7 separate regions of the Homo sapiens genome follow, and all the other regions are linked to region 1. The links are contacts of gene promoters, found by promoter capture Hi-C in blood cells and fetal thymus (Javierre and others, 2016). All regions are on one chromosome and are shown on one strand. Each heading gives the region's core, a stretch centred on a gene start or on the middle of the fragment in contact. The rest is flanking DNA. Distances are from core to core; before and after follow the strand shown.

Region 1 (3,459 bases), core at 295-2,794:
GTCTTGATTTTCTCTGGAATCACTGACCATATCAAATTAAGATGGGTATGTATTTTTTAGTTATCCTAACTCCCAGGGATATAAAAAGGTAACTAAACTTTAACATTGGCTATTGTAATGTTTTTCACTTCATAATGATTTGGGTGCATATATGGATATAATATATGATTTATTATATAAAATTATAAAGAAAATATTATAAATAATGAAATAGTATAGGACACATGTGTATATGCACATACAGAAACATGAAATATAGATGAATAGAGAAAGATTATGATAATAAATAATGAAAAACATGATTTATCTGAGCACTGCATAAATCAGTGTGTATCAGAATCATGGAAGACCTTGAGATTATTTTTTTGTTTGGTGTTGTTGGGGGTAGGGGATAAACTCCCAAAGTAAGTAGGAGCGATTCATATTCTTTGCCAAGGCTCAGAAAGAACTCACAAGTTTGTTGGCTTTCCTTTCCCTCCCTCCCTCATCGTCTGCCTGGGAAGCCCATGATTAGAAGCCTGGCGGGGTGGAGGGTGGTGGGGTGGTTTTAGGAGGGGCAAAATCCCAGTAAAACACGTCCATGAGAAAGCTCTCCTGGCCCTTGCCCCTAAATAGTGCTTTCCCATGAGTGCCAGGTACCTGGTGGGAGCTGCGCTGGGCCTCCCACAGGCACCCGAACTCTCCCATCTCCATTCCTCTGCCCTGCTTCTGGATTCGAGCTCTCCTGGGACCAGATGAAGCCCTCCCTCCCTTAGACTTCCACTTCACATTTCGAGCTCCAGCAGATCCCCTCGGTGTGTCTTCTTTACTCCTTGAGGGGCAGGAGCAGTTTGCTTTTCCTCTGAAATTCCCAGGGCTCTAAAGGCCCAGTGAATGTCAAAGATGGGGTAGGGGTCAACATAAACGCCTTGGGAGTCAAACACTAAACTCCAGCTGGTTCCTAGACCAAACTGTGATGCATCAGCCCTGGAGCCCTGTGGTCCTTCAGGTCCTTCGACTTTTGCAAGATGAACTTGAGAGTGTGGAGCAGGGGCCTGGAAGAAACTCTTAAGACCGTGAACTCAGGGACTTAACAATTCTAAGTGGTCTGTGAGTCCACCTTGATCCGGTTTCCAGCTTCCCTCTCCCTAATATATTTTAAAGTCCTGACACCCTGGCAGGGGATCTGGGGTCGAATGAGTTGGCAAAGAGAGTTCTCAGCAATCCCTCATGCTTGCCATGATCAGATGACTTTTCACAGACTGGAGCTGACCAGGAGTTGGGGGATATTTACTTTTAATCCTTTTATGTGTGTTCAGTACACCTTGTGTGGTTGGGTGTGGAAAGCGGGGGAGGGGGGATTTCCAGATCGAGTGAAACTCCCGTTCCATTGGTATTACCATGCTTGTGGGGTTGGCAGTTCTTTAAGTCTGCAAATAACTACAGAACACAATAGAGTCCTCCTCCCTTCCTCTCTCTCTCTTTCTTTTTTTTTTTTCTTTTCCTGCTTCCAAACGCCTTCTTCGAGGCTGAAGCTGGGCAGGTCTCCAGAGGTGCAGCAGCCACAACAATCCCGCAGTTCAAAGTTAAGCAGCAGTTGCACAACTTCCAGCAACTTTCTCAGCCGGCTACTAATGAGCTGAAAGCCAGGAACATCCGAGGAGAAGAGAAAGCTTCCAGCCCTCCTCCCTTCACCCTGGAAATCCAGACACCCCCACCCCCACCCTCAGATCACTTTAAGATAATTTCTTTATTCGTTTGCCCGACAGACCATGGCTCCCTTTGGAAGAAACTTGCTAAAGACTCGGCATAAAAACAGGTAAAGTCAAGCGTGTGAGTAAGTGTGTGTGTGTCTCTGTGTGTGTGTGTGTCTTGTGTGTGTACTCTGGACCCTACCTGTGAAAGTATGTGTTTTGTGGTTGTTAGATTCTGATAAAAAAAGGCTTCGTGGGGACACAGTCCTAGCCTAAGGAGTTAGGCTAGTATGAATACCTAGATAGTAAGGATATTCTCCCAGTATTGATGATGGGAGTGACCAGCTCAAGGATCGCAGAGAATAAAGAGTGATTATATTTGACTCCTTTCTCCCCTTTTGACCAGTCCTGTTTCCACAACTAGCAACATAAACAGTTTCTTTTTTTGTTGCCCTGGGCATTTGAGGGTAGTACAATAAAAAGTGTCATTTTGTTTCAACAGAACTTTAGAATATTGTAGAAATAATTAAAACTTTGATAAAGATGTAACTAGTATTTATAGCCACTAAGTAGGATGAAAAATAAAACTGCTGATACAATTCAGAAACAATGCTTTGGCTCCCCTGAGAGTGAGGCATTCCTGAAACCTGGAATGTTCCCAAAGTGGAAACACTCTGGAGAGAAACTTTGTTTGAATTGATTCTTTAAAAAATCTTTGAGAATTTTAGGTAGTTTTAAGCACTAAAGAAGGATTCAAGCAGCTATCCTCTCTAATCCTTATTATTACTGTTTTACTTTGATTTGATTTGATATTTCAAGCTTGAAATGCCCATAGTATAAATAAGTTACTCAAAACACACATACACACACGTATTTTTCTAGGGACAGTATGTCTGTCTTAGTCTTATTAAATATTTTATTTACACATCAAATGTTACGTTTTCATGCCAAAAACTTGAGAATAAATTTAGACATGGGCTATATTTTTTTAAAAATATATTTATTTTGGCATAGGGGATTGTCCACCACTTTTCTCTCAATCATGCCTGTTTGTACTTGTCATAATTTGCTCAGTGCAGATTCAAAAGGATACAATTACATGGTAGGAAATGATATAATTATTTTAAAGTGTCTACATGACAATATAGAGTAATACAACTTTAAAGTAAATCTCCATACTTTATTTTGCGCACACATGTCTACTTTGAAAATCCTGTTTTTAACTCATTCCAAATGTATTCATGATTTAGGTGACAAAATTTCCTTTAGAAAGTAAATGGCCTTAATAAATACTGTAAAAGTTTCTAAGTAAGCTTTATTTTCTAATAATTTGACAATATTTCACAAATATGCTATTTATGGTAATTAAAGATAATGAAACTATATTAAAATAAAGTGGTTTGAGTATTTAAAATTTGTGTTTTGATGGTGACAATGCATTTTAAAATATTCTAGAATATTCCAGAAAAGCCTCCCCCAAGCCAAAAATAAAAATACTCTGTTTTTTAAATGATATTTTTGTAGTGGTATTTTTGTAGTATTATTTTGGCATTTGTTTAAATGTCATCAAATGTATAAAAATACTCTGGAAAACTTTATGGTTTCATAAATCAAGTTGTGTTTCTGGCATACTATCCCTGTAGTCAGGGCTTTCTGTTTGTTTGTTTGAGGTTTTTTTGTTTTGCTTTAGCAATTTGAGATTTCTGTCATTGGTATGCCAAATACAGGGCAATAAAACTTTGCATGCGCCCCTGAGTTTCCCTCAGGGAAGTGCATTCTTCAATTT
Region 2 (3,329 bases), core at 480-2,979, 330 kb after region 1:
AATCACATGTACTACATTTTACTTAGACTAAATTTTATAATTATTTTATATAAAATGTTAAAATGTTTAAAAATTTTATTATTTCTAGTAAATGGTGGTCTTAGTTATAGCTGTTAATTAGTTTAATCATTTTCTTTTCAAAGAAATGACTAAAATCTCTAATTAGTTATTCACAAATTTTGCTGATGCCCTTTGCATGAATCTCATTCTAGAAAAAAAAATCAGGCTACTAATTTTTTCTTTAAATAAAAATGGTATGTATATGTTATACACTTATATATTCTTATTTGAAAATGAAATTTTGTGGGAAAAAAGAATACGTGAGAACGGGATTTACAGCTTTTTTTATACCTGTTTTGTCTCACAAGTCAGCCATTACAATAGAGAAAAGTAATCATGATAGTCTTATTTTCTGAACTATTAGAATTACAAGCCTAATTTTGCAGTGATAATTATTTGACTTTTTTTTTTCAATATTATACTATTATCTAGAACTAAAAGTCAGAAATCAAACCTGGATATCTTTTTCTGGTTCAAAGATAGAAAATTCAAGGGTGCTGAAATTACTCTGAATGTTGTTTTTATTTAAGAGCTCAATGAATAGGAGAAATAATAAAGTTATTGGTGGTTTATATAAATTGTGGTTATTTTTAGTATTACCTTTTCTAATAAAATTCAAGAATATAAATAGGTTATATAGTGTCTATAAAGTGTTTAACAAAAATCTATTGTCTAATTGTAAACATCAACTAAGATTTTTAAAATAAATACTATCAAATAGACAATAAGCTTACAGGTACAAGTGATATGAAAGAAATTACCATTTTCTGTTGGCATGTCAGTTACCTTAGTTCACAAGAAAAACAACCTATATAAATTGTTAATATTTTAAAATGTAAAGCATCAAGCAGATAGGTTACAACATTTTGGAGCAAGAGCAAATGTGTTCATTGGCCTTTTAGCTACAAATACTTTGCTACAGAATATTTTTTGCTTATTTTACATGATCTGAAATGCCTGAATCTTATTAAAAAAGTCTGAGTCTTACTAAAACAATCATGAAATATTAATAGTTGTAGTTAGTTAATTAAATTATTATTATCCTGATGATGATGATAATTAGGTTAATATAAAAACAATTAGGTAAGTTCTTTTGAAGGGCACACTTTAGGAATATTCTATTTGAGACCAGAATGGACATTTTAAATGAGGAATATCATTCACTGGTTGGCCTACAACTGAAGCCATCATTGCACCTACAGGTCTTGGATTTTATCCTGATTCATACTATTTTACTCTACACTATTTCTCTATTGTATTATCTCCCCCCAAAGATTATTTTTTCATCAGAATTAAGGAGAACTATATGTAATACTATCTATTTTGTTAGAAAAACATTCTCTGTTTTTCTCTTAAGAACTATGTATCTCAAATGTTACTTTTCTATGATGTCTTCTAGGCAGGTTAAGCCCTTTTGTCATCCTTCATATCTCTTCTTGTTATTTTATCCACATAAATATGTATTTTCATAAAAATTTACAAGACCCTTCTTAACCTTTAATGCTAGGACTGTATTTTATTTATTCTCATAGCACTAATAATGTGATTGAAAAATAACACTCACTCAAGTAAATGCATAGGCGTCCCTGCATTCCTTCCTCTCTTTTTCCTCTTCCATTATTCTTTTCTTAAAACTATAAAACTTATTTCTACAGCACAAATAATTTGATCTCTTTGTGAAAAAAAAATCCTTTGTAAAATTTTCTTCGTGATTATATGTTGGCTTGTATATATTCCATTCCAAGTCCTTATACATTGTCCTCAAATCTCTGTCACCATTTCTCCCATCCTTACAGTTCACTCATAAATCTTTTTATTTCACTGACGCAGGAGAACAAAAGAAGCAACAGAAGAAATTTTCTGGTAGCTTTGAGCAAAATAACTACTGAATTCTTTCTTTACTGCAAAGAATCTGTTTTTTCTACTCTCCTGATTAAGATCGACATCTACACATGTGCCAGAGATCCCATTCATCCTGACCTACTCAAAAATAGATATTATTCAAGCAGCTCACTCCTCTCAAGACATATCAGATGTTCTGTCTGGGGGAGAATTATTCTTATCAGCATACAGATATTTTTAAAATGTCTTACATATTAAAACTATCCTTTTTTGATCCCATTTTCCTTTGAGTTATTGCCCTATTGTTCTGCTGTCTTATTGGCAAAACAAGTCACTCAAAAAGCAGTCTATACTACCCATCTTCAGTTTTACTGTGGTAGGCATAATTCTAAGAAAACCCCCAAAAGTTTTCCCCGTCCTCTTGATGTACAAAACCTCTATAATCCCTGGGACCACAAATAGGGTGAATTTATTTCTGTGATTAGGTTTTGTTATGTGGCACCGTTAATCTTAAAATAGAACATCCAGGTAAATGCAGTTTTTTCCCAGCTTTTCATAAAAGAGGAAGTCAGAAATTCAAGTATGAGAGATTTTACATGAGGGAGATTTTCCATTGCTGGCTTTGCAAATGGACAAAACCACATGCTAGGGAATGTGGGTTGCCTCCAGAAGGTGAGAGTATTTCCCACCTGACAGCCAGCAAGGAAACAGGGACCGCCCATAACCACCACGAGGAAGTGAATCTTGCCACAACCATGCAAGCTTAAAAGAAGACCACAAGCTCCACATGAGAACACAGAGTGGCTGACAGTCCTGCTGTGCCACAATTCTGACCCAGACTCTGAGCTAATAAATAGGTGTTGTTTTTTAACCACTAAGTTTATGGTAGTTTATTTCACAGTACTAGAACATTAATACACATCCCATTCTCCACTGACTCATTCCAAATAGTATTTAGCACCACCATTCCAACAAAGCAGGTCATCAGTGATCTCCATATTGATAAATTTGATGGACAATATTTGATCCTATTTATCCAGACCATCAGCATTATCTTACCATGTTGACCACTTCCTTGGTCTCCAGTTAGCCTCTGTGGTACACCATTCTTTCAGATTCCTCTTATCTCAACTGGCCTTTTTCTGGCTCCACCACACTCTTAACTTGGTTTCTGAGACTCCACATCCTTCCTCCAGATTTTTCTCCTACTTTTCTTGTAACCTGCCAGGATCCTTGGTGGACTGAACAAAGGGTGGCGAAAGCGGGAATAAAATTCAAAGACAAGAGAGTATATTTGGAAGATGGGGTCAGGGGGCACGTTGCCTCTAGTGGACAAGGGCCCTGAGCTTTACACAGACCTCCATATTTATTACACAAAAGAGATAGCAAGAAAGCGGGGGTGATTGTCAGGTAATTGTCAGCCGGCT
Region 3 (3,109 bases), core at 170-2,669, 400 kb after region 1:
AATCAGAAAAGAACTAGAATACTTCACCATTACCAAATTTTTGCATCGAATAAACATGGTTATTTTAACATGTACTCTGGAGTCGGCCCCCTACCCCCCCAAAAAAAGAATTGACATCAGATATGTAACACTAAATGTCACTGACATAAACTCTTCTCCCTTTTGTTAATTTGGACATTTTTCTGTCCCTAGCTTTCTTTCAAGATAGCTCTAACTTTCCATGATGTCTCATTAATAATTTGCAAATACCTGAATCACATTTCAGAATATGACACATCTGTTCTAGGAGACTTGAATTTTTGTAATGGTGCCCTCTAATGTTTTTCCAACAAATTCTTCATCAATTATATTTAAAAATTTTAAATTTACATTTTCCCTACTTTTTACTATTTCAAGAAGACAGGAGTAATGCTCAATGGGATAGGTAAGAAAAATATGAACTAATTATTCTAATTCTTCATTATTCATTATATACACATTTTAAGTATGTATCCACTTCATTGTATCTCCTAGATAAGCCCTTTGAAAATCCAAATGAATTATAATCTAATTGTAGAGAAATATTTGTTTGCTTAAATGTATCTATTTTTCTTCTGATTTAAATCATCTGATTCTATTCAGTGACTATTTAATGCTTATTGTATACAATGGAATACTTGCTGTGGGGAACATAGAAAGATCAAATCAGGTTAAAATATAATGAGAACAAAGAAGTAATCAAATTTAATATATAACCGAGAGAAATAAGTGTATAACGTAGTACTAATTTGAGAACATAAATACAATAATTGCATTTTTGAGGTCTTCTCATCTCTTTTCAAACATCTTCTTTTTTAGAGCCTCAAGCCCTGTTCAAATTTATCTGAACATTCTGGAAATCCTATTTTCTAAAAATAGATATTTATTGCTGATTAGGAATTCTTTGGTTAATGTCAACTTATATGACACTGTAATTTTCCCTGAAAATTCGCTAAATTCTACCTCACCAATCAGTTCTTTCTTATTCAAAATTAAGTTCAGTGGCAGATTGACATAAGGAAAGTATATGAGTTTGAAAACTCAGGAAATTTTTATTTCCATCACAGACCTGTCTCTAGACAGCAGAGTCATCTTTTTTTGCTTATCTAATAAATTCACTCACTCATTCCAGAAATATTCATTGAATGTCTTACCATGTGACAGTCACTATTCTTTACCCTAGGAATAGAGCTGTAAACAAGATAGCAAAATGGTATAGGGACTATTATAATGTGATTATAATTTATTCAATTTTAAAATTTGCTTATAGGTAATTTCTTAATTTGTATTCCACCTTAAACTGTCTTTGAGGATAATTTGTATTTCTTCTTATAACAGGAAAAATTTGATAAAGAAAATAGAAAAACATAGTGAACTGTCATTAGGAAAACAGCTAGAATGAAGTAGATGTAGACAAACAGTAAAAAGTAAGCAAATGACTACATAAAATGTCAGACAGTTGTTAAGCGCTGAAAAGAGAATAAAACAGAGTTCGTGATGGAGAATGAGCTTAGTGGGAGAATATTGGCAAGATTTTGGAGATGCTGTTAAGATGAAATATACTAATGTGGTAATAAAGGTAGGGATTGAGCAGAGTGCTTGGTGAGCTTCCTTTAAAGAAATGTTTTGATGATCAGCAATTTCCTATGTAAAGTATATCTCTTTGATCAATTTATTTATTTATTTAATTTATTTTTTGTGTAAGACAGTGTTGCTCTGTCACCCAGGCTGGAGTGCAGTGGCCAACCTCTGCCTCCTGGGTTCAAGAGATTCTCCTGGCCGGGCGCAGTAGCTCTGTTGCCCAGGCTGGAGTGCAGTGGTGTAATCCACCTGCCTCAGCCTCCAAAGTGCTGGAATTACAGGCGTGAGCCACCATGCATGGCCTGACCTCTATTTATAATAAACTTTGCTTGTAAGGAAACAATATAATCACTATGATGATTTTCTTCTGGATAAACTGTATTGTGATGGTTAATTTTAGATGTCAACTTGACTGGATTAAGCCATACCTAGGTAGCTGATAAAACATCATTTCTGGGTCTATGAGGGTGTTTCCAGTAGAGATTAGCATTTGAATCGGTGGACTAAGTAAATAAGATCTACCCTCACCCCATGTGGACAATGTGGACAGGAACTATCCAATTGAATTAGGGCCCAGATAGAACAAAAGGCAAAGGAAAGGAGAATTTCTCTCTCTCTGTCTCGCTCTCGCTCTCTCTTCTTTCTCTTCTGGAGCTGGGAAACCTCTTCTCCTACCTTTGGACATCAGAACTCCAGGTTCTCTGAACTTTGGACTCTAAGATTTGCACCAGTGGCCCTCCATGTTCTCAGGCCTTCAGTCTTTGTCTAAGAGTAACACTATCGGTTTCCCTGGTGGTCAGGCTCTCAGACTTGCGTTAGCTATGCCACTGTCTTCCCTGGTTCTCCAGCTTGCAGACAGCTTATTGTGGGACTTATCATGCTCCATAATCATGTGAGGCAATTCTCTAATAAATCCTGTTTCATCTATCTATCTATCCATCCATCCATCCATCCATCCATCCATCCATCCATCCATCCATCCCCTATGGATTCTGTCTCTCTGAAGAACCCTGACTAATACACATATTATTTGAGGTAAAGAAAAGTTATGAGATTGGAGGACTGAGGGCAAACTACTAAAAAGTCATGTTGTCACTGATAACACACCTTTTCCCCCAAATGTTTGGAAAACTATTACCTATGTATATTGCATTTTCCTATTTTGCCTGTCATTAGAAGGAGGGTTCATGCAAAGTGGAGACTACAGAGACAATTTAAATGACATTCAAATGAACTCAAAACCTCAGAGTTAGAATACAAATTGAAGCTTTATTATAGATCAAATCAGTTCAGAAAAAATTGTCACAATTTAACAGTTGAGCAGAAATATGAAAATCTTTAAATAAAATACAACTCAAAAGCCCCAAGCATTTACACAAGCCCTAAATTATAAAGCATAAAGTTTATCGGTCTAAACATTTTCATCAAGTGCAGCATTTTGCCTTACCAAAAGAGGATTGCTAAGGTTGAAAGTGCATCCGGAGCAGGCAGAATAGAAAAGAAGGTACCT
Region 4 (3,134 bases), core at 81-2,580, 380 kb after region 1:
AATGAAATTAAATCACATAGTACATGTCAAAAACTACTCTTTAAGTTATTACTTCCTTTCCAAAAGTTTTATACTCTTCATGTACTCTCAAATCTACCCTATCTCAGCACACATTCTTAGGTCACACTGAATCTACATTTTACCTCTCCTCTCACTGGAATTTTCCCCCTGTATGATTCACATGTTGATGTAGACCTATCAAGCCATTCCCCAGGGTTCTATTATTTCTATCCACCACTCAATATAGCAAAGGAAGAGATTCTTCCATCAGACCCACCCTCCACAGACAGCAGAGGAGATAAATAATATAAATGCTTATAATTTAAAGCTATTGCCTCTCTGAGAAAGAAAAGTTGTATCAGAAGATTGCACAGAGACAATATCTTTGGAGGAAACAGAAGACAAATGCACTATAATTAAAATACTGTTTTTAGGTTTATCTTGTACCATTCATGAGTATTTCAGATTATGAGATTATGTTTTCTTTGACTTGTTTAGTATGAAACATGCAATTAATGCCTTAACCTCCCTTTTAAAATCAATTCTTAGAAACTAAGTAAACACAAATTATAACTTACAGTGATAGCATTTTGATTTTAGATCTTTGGTGACATTTACTTTGCAGGCCGTTGAAGACACTTATCTGAGTTTCACCTTAATCTATTAGACTGGAATGCCACAAAGGGGTCAGAAAAATAAAAGAGAATCATTTTATAAAGCTATTATACATTTTAAAATAGCATGAAAATCATTTGTGAAATGAAAAACAAGAGGTAACTGTCTTCTCTTCTTTCCATAAATGAATTGTAATCAAACCCCTTTGCCTGAAATTGCTCAATATACTTGCATTATCACAGTATTCAAGGCAGTAACTGTGGCACTAGGATTGTTAAAAATCTACTAATTCAATTTTTTTTTCTAAAAGCTTCCCCCATGTTGAGGTTTCTGCCAGTTTCTTATATTATATTGCTATTCATTTGCTAATCTTTAAAAAAATAATTTGACTTCCTTAGGAAAAGAAACAGTAAGTAGGCTACCAGTAAGTAGCACTGCACTATTAGCAGCAATACTGTTTAATTTCACATGTTCCATATTCGAATTGAGATAGAAGGTGACATCTGAGAGTTGTACAGTTGCTGTCAAGAAAAGGCTGAAATGCATTTCTCTCTAAATGTATTATAAAAATACACATAATTATGAATTCTCATGAAATGCTGGAAAATAACAGCCCTCTGTTGGAAGAGGAAGCATAATAACCAATATGTCTCTATTTATTTTTGCTCCAACATGAGGGTAAGGGGTTTCTTTGACAGTCAGTGATTTTCAAGCAGGTTTAAGAGATAGAACTCTTGGTGATAGGTAGAAGGGTGAGGATAGAAACCAACAACTTTCTTATTTTCTGAATCTCTGCTCTCTCAATTTTAATCTGACCAGATATTTGGATACTGATAAATTTTTGCATTCAGCCTAGTCCCATAAATCATAGTGCCTTACAGAGTCCACAAAATTTCCCTACCCAAATTAAAGTGCTCTTAATTTATTACAGCAAAACATTGTGTCCATTCTTTATTACATTTGTCGAGTGTTTTTCTTGTTTATATCTACCCTTCCTTTCCTTATATCATTCCTCAATGCTTTCACTGTTAAAGCCAAGTGGAATGTAAAACAAGTTAACTGAATTTAATTAATGCAAAGGAAATGGCTATCCTAGCAAGAGAAACAAAGTAAAAGCTTCCAGAATTCCCTTCACTAGTGAATGAGACTTTCATGGACGTAGGTAGAAGCTAGGAAGCATGAAGAAAGAGAGGAATACATTCATAGATAAATTGCTTGGAAATAATTTTTAAAGTATTAAATTATTTAAATAAATTTGTTTTAAACCTATTTATAATTCTAATGGTAGAAATTGCTCATTTCTGAAATCCCAATTTGGAAAATACAGCAAAAGCTAAAATGTCTGGAATGAGTAGAGATTTAGATATATTAAATAATAGAATATATATAAATTATAATATTCAAATAATCGGAATATTGCATCATATTTACTATTAAAACTTAACTTGAATGTGTACATTATTGTTAGATAAAAGGATTTTATGGTCTTTCCATTTTGTAGATTATTTCCATTTTGTAGATTATTGGTCATTTACAAAATCAAAGCAAACTTTCTTACACATAACATCAGATCATATTTACTTGAGATGAAAAATATGTGAAATACACAAAAGCCTAAAATCTTAGAATTAGTGGGAGCCTGAACTTCCATCTAGTCTAAACCTTTTATTTTATAGACGAAAAGTGTTCTAAGAATTGGTAGTCAAATTCAAAAATCAGTTAAAGTCAGAACATAAAGTCAGAAGAAAGTTGTGATTGGGAGATTAAAAAAATTGAGTTAGTAATCACGAACCAGTCTGAAGATTGTAATTAGGTGTACCGTGAAAGCAATAGGTAACAATGTGACAAGGACAAGAACTTCCAGTCCAGCCTGGATGTGTATCTCAGCCCTATCAGATTTTAACTTTGTGAGTTTGGGTAAGTAGTATTTTGAATGTTGGTCTTAATTATCAGCATATTTTCTATAGCTTGTTATATGTCAAAAATATGGGGAAAATTAAGAAAAAAATACGTTATGTAGTAAATGAGACCATTTTTACCCTAATTTCTTTTGTTTGAAAATTATCAGACCTATAAGAAATTTGAAAGAACTCCTACATGGCTTTAATTTAGATTCATCAGTTGTTAATCATTTGCTTCATTGATAAATATAGTTGCATATGAGATATAACTATAGATATTGAGTATTCACATAGATATAGTCATAGAAATAGAGGTAGGCATAAATATAGATACAGATTTGTCTTCTTTTCCAGAAAAATATTGAGAGTAAATTGCAGATACGATGATACTATACTCCTTATTACTTAAGCATCATAATACTTTCTATATTGTCTCATAATGACACAATATTCTCCTACATAATCACAATAACATTATCACACTGAAGAAATATAATATTAATGCAATAATAATCATCTTATATAAGAAATCTTCCCAAGTATCTCAACAATTTAGATTATAGCTGCTTTTTTCCCTCTAAATGATGATCAAAAAATTAAATATTATATCTAATTGTC
Region 5 (3,295 bases), core at 771-3,270, 420 kb after region 1:
ATTAAATGCTTAAAATCCGATCCTTCTGTCAGGACCTGGGATAAATTAAACTGATGTACATTATTTTTAAAGAAAGGAAAAAAATATGGGAAGCGGGTTTTGAACCCTGAAGGCATAGAACAAAACAAGTTATGCAGGTGATACAAACCATCTTAGTTCATTCCTATAATGGCTTTCTACTTCCATATGGTGGCCCATACTGGAAGTAATTCTTAGGAAAACATGTTTGTATGTGATAAATAAAACATTATTTTAGAGGTTTCTGTTTTTATTTTCAAAGATTGCTATTTTTGTATTCAGAGTTCAGACTGCTGTGTAATTTTTTTTTTTTACTTTGGTATTTGAGTTTATTTTTTCAAAGAGAGAGTGCTAGAGAATGTGTATAGATGATAAGGGTATAAGGTGAACAATTATCAAGTGTTTGCATCAGATGAATTCAGTGCAGCTGGATGATATGTATTAGGATTTAATCAAAGCTTTAGGAATGTAAACATAAAACGGGTTGAGTTTCACTTAGCATATTCTAAACTTGTTAATAAGTTATTTCACTAATACTACATAGATTTTATTAACATCTAACTCTCAAATAATAGCATTAGTCTAAAGATAAATACACAGTTAACAGTAAAAGCCTCTAGTTTATTAATTTTGGTTGTTGTCAATGGAATAATTTAATTTCATAATAGGTGCATAATAGGTGCATAAATAGGGAATAAAGCTTCCTAATTTAGAGAAATCTTGAAAAAATGAATTTCTTGATAATGATTCAAGCAGTAATAAGAAAAGCTCAAATATCAGAAGAGACCCACCATAGATAACCATCATTCAAATATTTTAAAAATCTAACAATTTAAGTTCACTTCACATATTTCTGCCAAGAGCATGGCTTTTTTCTCTGTTTCAGATCATTCTGGTATAAAGTATAAGCTTGTTTTCAGATCCGGGATATTTGCAAAGCAGGAATTAGAAGAAAGAAGATGTCTATCAAATTTTCACTTTTGAAAAAGATGCATGTGTACATATATACCTACATTATTACTATAGGCAGCATCATTTGTCAATCACATTATAATTACTTAAATGGACTTTGAGATTTACTGTGGGTTTTTTAATGTCTTCAAAAATTTCACTTAAAAAATTTGCTATTTTGTTTAATAAAATAATTAAAATGAATTATCTGTATATAATAGACTTTAAAAAGTAACAAGACATTGCAGAATATAGACATAAGTGTCCCCTGTAAGCTGCAGAATATTTAGAACTAGATACATTCAAATTGAAGTGGAGACATTAAAGAGTAACTTGGAAAAAAATGGGTGAAATAGAATTAATGGAATATATAAATATTTGAGACAATGAATACTCAAAAGTTAAAAGAGTACTTCATCCACTTCACACAGAACTTTTACGTTTTCTCAAAAATACTCTTGGAACAAGGCCCAAATATCAGAAGTTGAACAAATGAATGCTTACCGGCAAACAACAAACGAGTGTAGGCTGTGAAGCTGCCACACCCATGTAACCCCTTGTTTCAGTATGCATTCCAGACTGTTCCATTTCATTTTATAGCATCAAAAGTGAGCAGAAAACATATTCCTGAATCAATTAACACAACATGCAACCTTTTTTTTTAAACCTCTGATCTTAAACAGTGCCTATGAACTAAAGAAAAAGTCATGCAGCTTTCTGGTGAATTTGATCTCTGTTTGCAGTCACCAATTAGTTCTAATTATTCAACATCTCATATCCTTAGTTTTATGATTTGGATCATAAAGTGCCTAAGTGTTTTATTTCACATTGTTTCATTGATTTGGACCTGAGATTCAAGGGAAAGCTAAGGAATACTACAAATCTCAAGGTTGTAAACACTCGTGTAAAAACCAGGTAGTTCCTAAAAGAGGATGTTTTCTGGAATTTTTTTTAAGGCAACTGGACTCTCCATTCTCGTATACATTAAGCAGCTCAAAGGGCATGCTCTTTTCAGAAAGACTTAATGATTTGTACATCCTTCCTTTCTCCCACAAATAACTGAGAGGAATTTTAATCAATTTTTGTTAACATTTATTTTTTACCAATTTATTTTTAAGTTTTCAATTTTGTAACGTAGTGGATACATTGAAGTTTTTAAAAAGTATGCTAAACTACAAGCACATGGATTCTCAAAATTTTTCTCACATATGTGGTATCAAAGTGGGGTTTATATATTGTGAGATTCCTTGATAGGATATGACTAACACCCTTTTGTCATTATTCATTTTATGCCAGAGTTCTCTGATAATTTATTATATTTAGAGAGTATATGTTTCAAACTTTAGTACCTCTAAAATCATGTGATAACAGATTTTTATTATTTAAAGAGTTTACAATAAGATAATTATGTATCAATAACATTGTTATATTTTTTCTCACAAGAAATTTTTCAAAAATTTGTTTCTGTGAAAGCATTTAAAGAATTCAGTCTTCATCTCAAATTATTTTTTCTCTATTAAATTTTATTATGGAAAAAAAGGTAAATCATCACAACTGAGTACTTTGGCCTTGCATAGATGGAAATTTATCCCACGTATTCACAAAGGGCCACTTCGTACTACAGTAACACCTTACTAAGTGGATGTCATTGACTGTCAGCTGAAAGGAAGAAGTATTTTTGTCCTGTTGTAATTTTTATTCAAAAGGGACTCAAAATACTTTTCAAATTCAGCACTACCTTCAACTTGAAATTGAACCACCCTGGAGAAACTGCAAGGGCCGTCAATCATTTCATGGCCGCTACACAGCTGATGGGGAAACAGCATATTTTTGGCAACCATGGGGAAACCTTTTTCATACCAAAAACACAGTGGTGTCTTTGATCTCACAGAGGGAGGGCAAGACTTGTTGGCTTTTTTCTTAAGGATTTATCCAAAAATCTACAAGACCAAATTCATTACTCATACAAAATTCTTTGACCACATGACACAGAAAAGAGACCTTTTCAGAAACATTCAATAGGGAATTTTTCCTCTAGTCCTAAAGTTTGCAAAATCCCTGATAAATTTCTTACTGGAATTCAATCTTAACCAAAATTTATTTTCATTGGGTATCCCACATGCTACCTTCCAATGGAAGCTTTGCTTTATTATTTTGTTAATGATGCCCATTTAATTGAGAGATATATATATCAATTAAAGTTTCTAAGAAATTAAGAACACCTAAAAAATTAAGAATGCATTTTTAAAAATCAGGTCTTAATTTGTCAATTCTTTATTGACAATTGCATTGGAGGATTAAAATCTTTCTGTTACTGTGATTTTTG
Region 6 (3,357 bases), core at 800-3,299, 360 kb after region 1:
CAAGAGATAATAAGTAAAGTTCCCATTATAGAACTCTCACTATTGAGTCTCCCACCATTAGATTTGCCCATCCTGGGATCTCAGTAGAGACCATGGTGACCAAGTCATACATTTTATTTTCAAATCTTACTTTATTAAATTTTGCTTACCTTTATATCCACACCCAATTTAATACAGTGAAAGTTTATTTTCTATTGTCTTTAACACATCCTTTATCTCTAACACCCCTAAGTATGCTTCTAGAGCCTGCTCGACTATCACCCTCTCAATGTGGCATTATACTACCAATCGCAGCATTCTTTGTCTATTCCTCCTCTGTTTTCCATCAGACTCTATTCATACTTCCAGTGTTGAATTTGTAATGAATAGGATTTATCAGCTTACATGACTGCCTTTCACATAGTAGTCCCTCAAAGAGTATGCTTTATGTGATTACAGGAATAGATGAATAAATGGTTAGCTGGTGATATGGTTTGGTTCTGTGTCCTCTCACAAATCTCATCTTGAATTGTACTCCCATAATTCCCACATGTTGTGGGAGAGACCTGATGGGAGATAATTGAATCATGGAGGTGGTTTCCCCCATACTGTTCTCATGGTAATGAATAAGTCTCACGAGATCTGATGGTTTTATCAGGGGTTTCTGCTTTTGCATCTTTCTCATTCTCTCTTTGCCTGCTGCCATCCATGTATGACGGGACTTGCTCCTCCTTGCCTTCTGCCATGATTGTAAGGCTTCCCAGCCACATGGAACTGTAAGTCCAATTAAACCTCTTTCTTTTGTAAATCACCCAGTCTTGGGTATGTCTTTATCAACACTGTGAAAACAGACTAATACAGTAAATTGTTACCAGTAGAGTGGGGTGTTGCTGAAAATATACCCAAAAATGTGTAAGAAACTTTGGAACTGGGTAAGAGGCAGAGGTTGGAACAGCTTGGAGGGCTCAGAAGAAGACAGAAAAATGTGGGAAAGTTTGGAACTTCCTAGAGACTTGTTGAATGGCTTTGCCCAAAATGCTGGTAGTGATATGGGCAATAAGGTCGAGGCTGAGATGGTCTCAGAGGGAGATGAGGAACTTTTTGGTAACTGGAGCAAAGATGACTCTTGCTATGTTTTAGCAAAGAGATGGGTGGCATTTTGCCCCTGCACTAGAAATTTGTGGAACTTTGACCTTGAGAGAGATGATTTAGGGTATCTGGTGGAATAAATTTCTAAGCAACAAAGCATTCACGAGGTGACTTGGGTGCTGTTAAAAGCATTCAGTTTTAAAAGGAAAACAGAGCATAAAAGTTTGAAAAATTTGCAGCCTGACAATGCGTTAGAAAAGAAAATCCCATTTTCTGAGGAGAAATTCAAGCTGGCTGCAGAAATTTGCATAAGTAACAAGCAGCCAAAAGTGAATCCCTACGACAATTGTGAAACTGTCTCCAGGGCATGTCAGCAGTCTTCACGGCATCCCCTCCCATCACAGGTCCAGAGGCCTAGGGAAAAAAAAGTGGTTTTGAAGGCTGGGCCCAGGGTCCCTGAGCTATGTGGAGCCTAGGGACTTGATGCCATGTGCCCCAGAGGCTCCAGCCATGGCCATAAGGGGCCAATGTAGAGCTTGGTTCTTGGCTTCAGGTGGTACAAGCCCCAAGTCTTGGCAGCATTCACGTGGTGTTGAGCCTGTGGGTACCCAGAAGTCAATAATTGAGGTTTCTGAACCCCCGTCTAGATTTTAGAAGATGTATGGAAATGCCTGGATGCCCAGGCAGAAGTTTGCTGCAAGAGTGGGGCTCTCATGGAGAACCTCTGCTAGGGCAGTGTGGAAGGGAAATGTGGGGTTGAAGCCCCCACACAGAGTCCCTACTGGGGCACTGCCTGGTGGAGCTGTGAGAAGAGGGCCACCATTCACCAGACCCCAGAATGGTAGATCCACTGACAGCTTGCACCATGCACCTAGAAAAGCCACAGACACTTAATGTCAGCCTGTGAAAGCAGCCAGGAGAGAGGCTCTAGCCTGCAAAGACACAGGGGCAGAGGCGCCCAAGACCATGGGAACCCACCTCTTGCATCAGTGTGACCTGGATGTGAGACATGAAGTCAAAGGAGGTCATTTTGGAGCTTTAAGATTTGACTGCCCCACTGGATTTCGGACTTGCATGGACCTTGTAGCCCCTTTGTTTTGGCCAATGTCTCCCATCTGGAACGGTTGTATTTACCCAATGCCTGTACCCCCATTGTGTCTAGGAAATAACTAGCTTGCTTTTGATTTTACAGGCTCATAGGTGAAAGGGACTTGCCTTGTCTCAGATGAGACTTTGGACTGCAGACTTTTGAGTTAATGCTGAAATTAGTTAAGACTTTGGGGGACTGTGGGGAAGGCATGATTGGTTTTGAAATGTGAGGACATGAGATTTGGCAGGGGCCAGGGATGGAATGATATGGTTTGGCTCTGTGTCTCCACTCAAGTCTCATCTTGAAATGTACTCCCATAATTCCCACATGATATGGGAGGGATCTGGTAGGAGATAATTGAATCATGGGGGAGGTTTACCCCATAATGTTCTCATGGTAATGAGTGAGTGTCACGAGATCTGATGGTTTTTCCAGGGGTTTCCGCTTTTGCCTCTTCCTCACTCTCTCTTTGCCTGCTGCCATCCATGTAAGACGGGACTTGCTCCTCCTTGCCTTCCACCATGATTGTGAGGCTTCCCCAGCCATGTGGAACTGTATGTCCAATTAAACCTCTTTCTTTTGTAAATTGCCCAGTCTTGTGTATGCCTTTATCAGCAGTGTGAAAACGAACTAATACAACTTGGCAAGGATCTTCTTTTTCAACTGGGTGTAAACTCATTATGGGTTTAGAATCAGTCCTTCACTGAGCAAATGAAGTTAACTCTGACCAGTAGGCATTTTCTAGATTAAAGTAGGTTTGCTCAGCACTGGCCTTTTGACCACAAAGTGCAATTTCAGTCCAATTTCATTCATTATCTCCTTCTATTATGTTTTTAATATCTATTGGCCACATGATAAATGCAGCAATTATATGCAAATGACTGAGAAAAAAGATCAAAGTGTGTGCCTCTAGCAGAGACATTCATTCATTAAGAGCATGGTGCCAGGTTGCTCGTAACTGTGCTGATTATCTGCTTATGCTTTTAACAAAAGTTCCACAAAACATTCTTATCTATCTTCCTAAAGTCTGTCATTTGGCTTTGTAATTTTTTAGAATGTATTTTTTCAAGAATAGAATGTATACACTCTGGACACCCATGACACTATTATCTGTGCACTGGTAAGAGACATGTGTTCCAGGGAACCAAAACTTTTCAGATTGTATTTCTGAGGATTGTTTCAGATTTTTTATTCAAGAG
Region 7 (3,235 bases), core at 415-2,914, 310 kb after region 1:
ATTTATTATTTTTTATGTAGAGGCCAACTTTGCCTTTTGAAAGGACATTCCCTGAAGAAGGAGACTGACTTTCATGGATGGGTCTGAAATAAATTTCAAAAAGGATACAATAAAATAAATAGAAAAAGGCCGAAGAACATGCTTAGTGACTTCCACACTATGCCACTCGGAGCCCCTGGGGCCCCAGACGGCAACAAGCGAGTTAGCAGGCACTGTGAGTAGGCTGAGAAGGACTCTGAACTTGCCCCTACCTTTATTTAAGGGGAGGTGGCCCTGTGGCCAGGGAAGAAAGAGCTATGAGTTTGAAGGTACAATTCTACTAGTTACTCTGAAAGTAGAATAACCATCTAGTCAAAGGTTACAATTTATGAAACAATGGAACATCCCTCAATCTGAAAGGTTGCTCTCAACAGACAGACTCTTTTAGGAGTATCTGTGAAGGGAACAATAGATAATCACCAGGCTACAATTTGACAAGAGATCAGGTATTCTGGGAACCTGGACCTACTCTCAGTCAGGGTCCCTCTAGAATAAAGCTCCTAACACCCACCCCTCCATCTGGAAATGGAGAAAAGTGGTTATATCACCCGTGGTTTCACTCCTCACTGAAAAACTTGGTAGTTGGCGTCTGACAATTTCTCAAGATCTAAGTCCACAATTAAATTATCTTTCAAAATGTTAAGCAATAAAAGCTTTGTACCTTTTTAAAGAAATTATTTTTAAAAATATAATTGTAGTCCTGGTGACAGGAATAAAAAGAAAAGTAACTTCCTCATTCTTTTCAGTAGTGAGGTCAAATTATCAACAAAATGCTTTTATTATACCCACTGCAATTTACATTGTTTTCAAAGTTCACTTGGATGGAAAATACACAGTTAAGGTCTTTTCCAGAGTCATTTAAAGAAAAACCTGAAGCATAATGTTAAACTAATTAGTCATATTTTAAGATGAGCAGGTTCATGATGATCCTAAATGCCTTTGATTCTTTTTTGAGAGGTAAGTGGGTGTTAAATTATACATGAAATTACTTCTTACAAAAGAAATATTTTATTAAAAATCTTTTAAAAGTGTGATATATTCTCATATTTAAATTTCATGAAAGAAAAATCTTACAAAGAATAACTTAGACCAGTCACAGTGACTCACACCTTAATCCCAACACTTTGGGAGGCCGAGGTGGGAGCATTGCTTGAGCTCGTGAATTTAAGACCAGTCTGGGTAACATAGTGAGACCCTGTATCTAAAAATAAAAATAAAATAAAAAATTAGCTGAGTGTGGTGGAGTGTGCCTGTAGTGCCAGCTACTTGGGACTGGTGGGGGAGGTGAAGTGTTGAGATGGGAGGATGGCACTGAGGCCAGGAGGTCGAGACTGTAGTCAGATGATGTGACTGTGCCACTGTACTCTGGCACGGGTGAAAGGGTGACAAGCGAAAACCTGTCTCAAAAAAAATAAAAAGAAACTTTTTGTAGCTAAAGGGAAATACAACATTTTAAGGCAAATCATCTTGAGATTGACAGGATTGGGGAAAAAAAAACGGACACATTTTTCAAGCCAAGTCTTGTTCATAAGGAGTATGATGGAAATCCTATTGTCACAGAGTTTACAACTCATTGTTTTCTTCTTTAATTGTGTTTCCTCCTAAACCTTTTTTTTAAAATAAATATCTACTCAATTAACTGATTTCTCTTCTCCAGATTTTGCTTGGAGGTCTAGAGTTTAATGGGGCAATAAATGACTGGCATTAATCAAACAACAAATAATTGTGCAATTTATGTAGTCCACTCTTAGCAATCAGATTTTTATATCATTTTGCCTCTTTCCCACAAATTCATTTCTACCTAACAGCGATATTTATTTTGTGCTCCAACTTAAGGTTTAAGAGACAAGAAGACAGAAGCCTCAGTGGTTTGCAGTGTGTATGGGGGAAAATGTTTTAAAGAAAAAAAGCCCTTTTCTCTGTTATCACTAAAATAGGGGTAGGGAAGATAAATATGATTCTATAATATATTCAAAGGAGAATGCTAGGTGTATTATCTCTGTTACTGTTAATTGCACAAAAACCCTGCAAGGTATATATTAGATTTTGTTTATATAAATGAGAAAGATGATGATCTTAGAGAGATGAAGAAATTTGCTTAAAATCACAGTGATTTTTCACAGAAAAGATCTGACTTGAACCAAGGTAGATCTCACCCCAATCATGCAGCTCTGCTGTGCTTGTTTTCATTTGAAGCAGTATGTGATCAAATTCCTGTAAACCTGGAGTCAGAGGCAGAGCCTATGCCTGCGCCCCTTAAGGGACTAGGTACAGAAACTTCCAAGGGTCAGGCTTTGTGATGGGCAGCAATTCAAAATACTACACCTGGCTTAAATTTAACTTAAAAAAGAAGAAACATGTGAATAAGATAACCACAGATCTTTATTGTTACAACAGTCTGATAAATGCTAAAGGAATGAGTTTGCTGTTTTGTACATACGTGTGGCAAAAAGATCTTCACAGGACCATGTGTAAGAATGCTTTTCAATGCAGACTGCTTTAAGAAAGAATGGGTTTGGTTCTCTCAGAGTCTATTAGGAGATCACACTTCCACATTGAGTTATGACTTACTAATAGAGAAATGACATGAAGCTTATTTTAACTCATTCTTATGAATTAAAATTAATACAGATATAGTTTGTAGTGAAGTATCATGATTAAGAGATCTCACAGGCTTTGCAATCAGGCAAACCAGGGTTCAAATCTCAGCTCTTAACTTTTTAGTGATCTTGAGCAGTTAACTTCCTTGTATGTTTTTCCCCATTTGTATAATTGGGGGATTACTAGTCATTCCACAGTGGGAATTTTTGTGCAGACTTAATGATATATATAAGAAAAAAAAACTAGTTCATACCTGAAAGATCTGCACCTATGGCTTTGAAAAGTGCAGTCCCTGCTTTCACTGGTTGTTGAGTGCCTGTGGCTTTTCCAAGTGCAGAGGGCAAGCTTCCAGTGGATCTACCATTCTCACATCTGGAGGGTGGTGGCCCCTTTCTCACAGCTCCACTAGACAATGCTCCAGTGAGGGCTCTGTGTGGGGGCTCTAACCCCACATTTCCCCTTGGCATTGCCCTACTAAAGGTTCTCTGTGAGGACTCTGTCCCTGCAGCAGGCTTCTGCCTGGACCCTCAGATTCTTCCATACATTCACTGAAATTTAAGTGGAGGGTCCTAAGCCTCAACTCACTCAGGCTTAA

What was found. The method cuts DNA at HindIII sites, captures the fragments that hold promoters and counts their contacts. A CHiCAGO score of 5 or more calls a contact.
Region 2: a contact is called between a fragment that was not itself captured here and the fragment with the promoter of RASSF9 in region 1, in 1 of 17 cell types (erythroblasts). The highest score is 6.9, in erythroblasts.
Region 3: a contact is called between a fragment that was not itself captured here and the fragment with the promoter of RASSF9 in region 1, in 1 of 17 cell types (M2 macrophages). The highest score is 5.2, in M2 macrophages.
Region 4: a contact is called between a fragment that was not itself captured here and the fragment with the promoter of RASSF9 in region 1, in 2 of 17 cell types (erythroblasts and megakaryocytes). The highest score is 5.2, in erythroblasts.
Region 5: a fragment that was not itself captured here is called in contact with the fragment with the promoter of RASSF9 in region 1 in 1 of 17 cell types (fetal thymus); the score reaches 6.3 in fetal thymus.
Region 6: a fragment that was not itself captured here is called in contact with the fragment with the promoter of RASSF9 in region 1 in 3 of 17 cell types (megakaryocytes, erythroblasts and M1 macrophages); the score reaches 6.9 in megakaryocytes.
Region 7: a fragment that was not itself captured here is called in contact with the fragment with the promoter of RASSF9 in region 1 in 2 of 17 cell types (erythroblasts and megakaryocytes); the score reaches 6.5 in erythroblasts.

Annotation. Positions count from the first base shown.
Region 1 is chr12:85,834,494-85,837,952 of GRCh38, reverse strand. It overlaps RASSF9 (Ras association domain family member 9), which reads left to right and starts at 1,544. Exons shown (of 2, transcript NM_005447.4): 1 at 1,544-1,798. The coding sequence starts at 1,752. The HindIII fragment of the contact is 4,697 bases long and covers 1-1,654 here.
Region 2 is chr12:85,509,317-85,512,645 of GRCh38, reverse strand. No RefSeq gene overlaps it. Among named protein-coding and RNA genes, the nearest start is that of LINC02820, 190 kb to the right of the region's middle. The HindIII fragment of the contact is 1,875 bases long and covers 792-2,666 here.
Region 3 is chr12:85,434,419-85,437,527 of GRCh38, reverse strand. The region is part of intron 4 of LINC02820 (long intergenic non-protein coding RNA 2820); the gene reads right to left. Among named protein-coding and RNA genes, the nearest start is that of LINC02820, 120 kb to the right of the region's middle. The HindIII fragment of the contact is 2,899 bases long and covers 1-2,868 here.
Region 4 is chr12:85,452,738-85,455,871 of GRCh38, reverse strand. All of the region lies in intron 4 of LINC02820 (long intergenic non-protein coding RNA 2820), which reads right to left. Among named protein-coding and RNA genes, the nearest start is that of LINC02820, 140 kb to the right of the region's middle. The HindIII fragment of the contact is 806 bases long and covers 928-1,733 here.
Region 5 is chr12:85,417,299-85,420,593 of GRCh38, reverse strand. The region is part of intron 3 of LINC02820 (long intergenic non-protein coding RNA 2820); the gene reads right to left. Among named protein-coding and RNA genes, the nearest start is that of LINC02820, 100 kb to the right of the region's middle. The HindIII fragment of the contact is 2,181 bases long and covers 930-3,110 here.
Region 6 is chr12:85,477,597-85,480,953 of GRCh38, reverse strand. The region is part of intron 4 of LINC02820 (long intergenic non-protein coding RNA 2820); the gene reads right to left. Among named protein-coding and RNA genes, the nearest start is that of LINC02820, 160 kb to the right of the region's middle. The HindIII fragment of the contact is 5,440 bases long and covers 1-3,357 here.
Region 7 is chr12:85,527,667-85,530,901 of GRCh38, reverse strand. No RefSeq gene overlaps it. Among named protein-coding and RNA genes, the nearest start is that of LINC02820, 210 kb to the right of the region's middle. RefSeq lists an enhancer at 2,856-3,235. The HindIII fragment of the contact is 1,939 bases long and covers 695-2,633 here.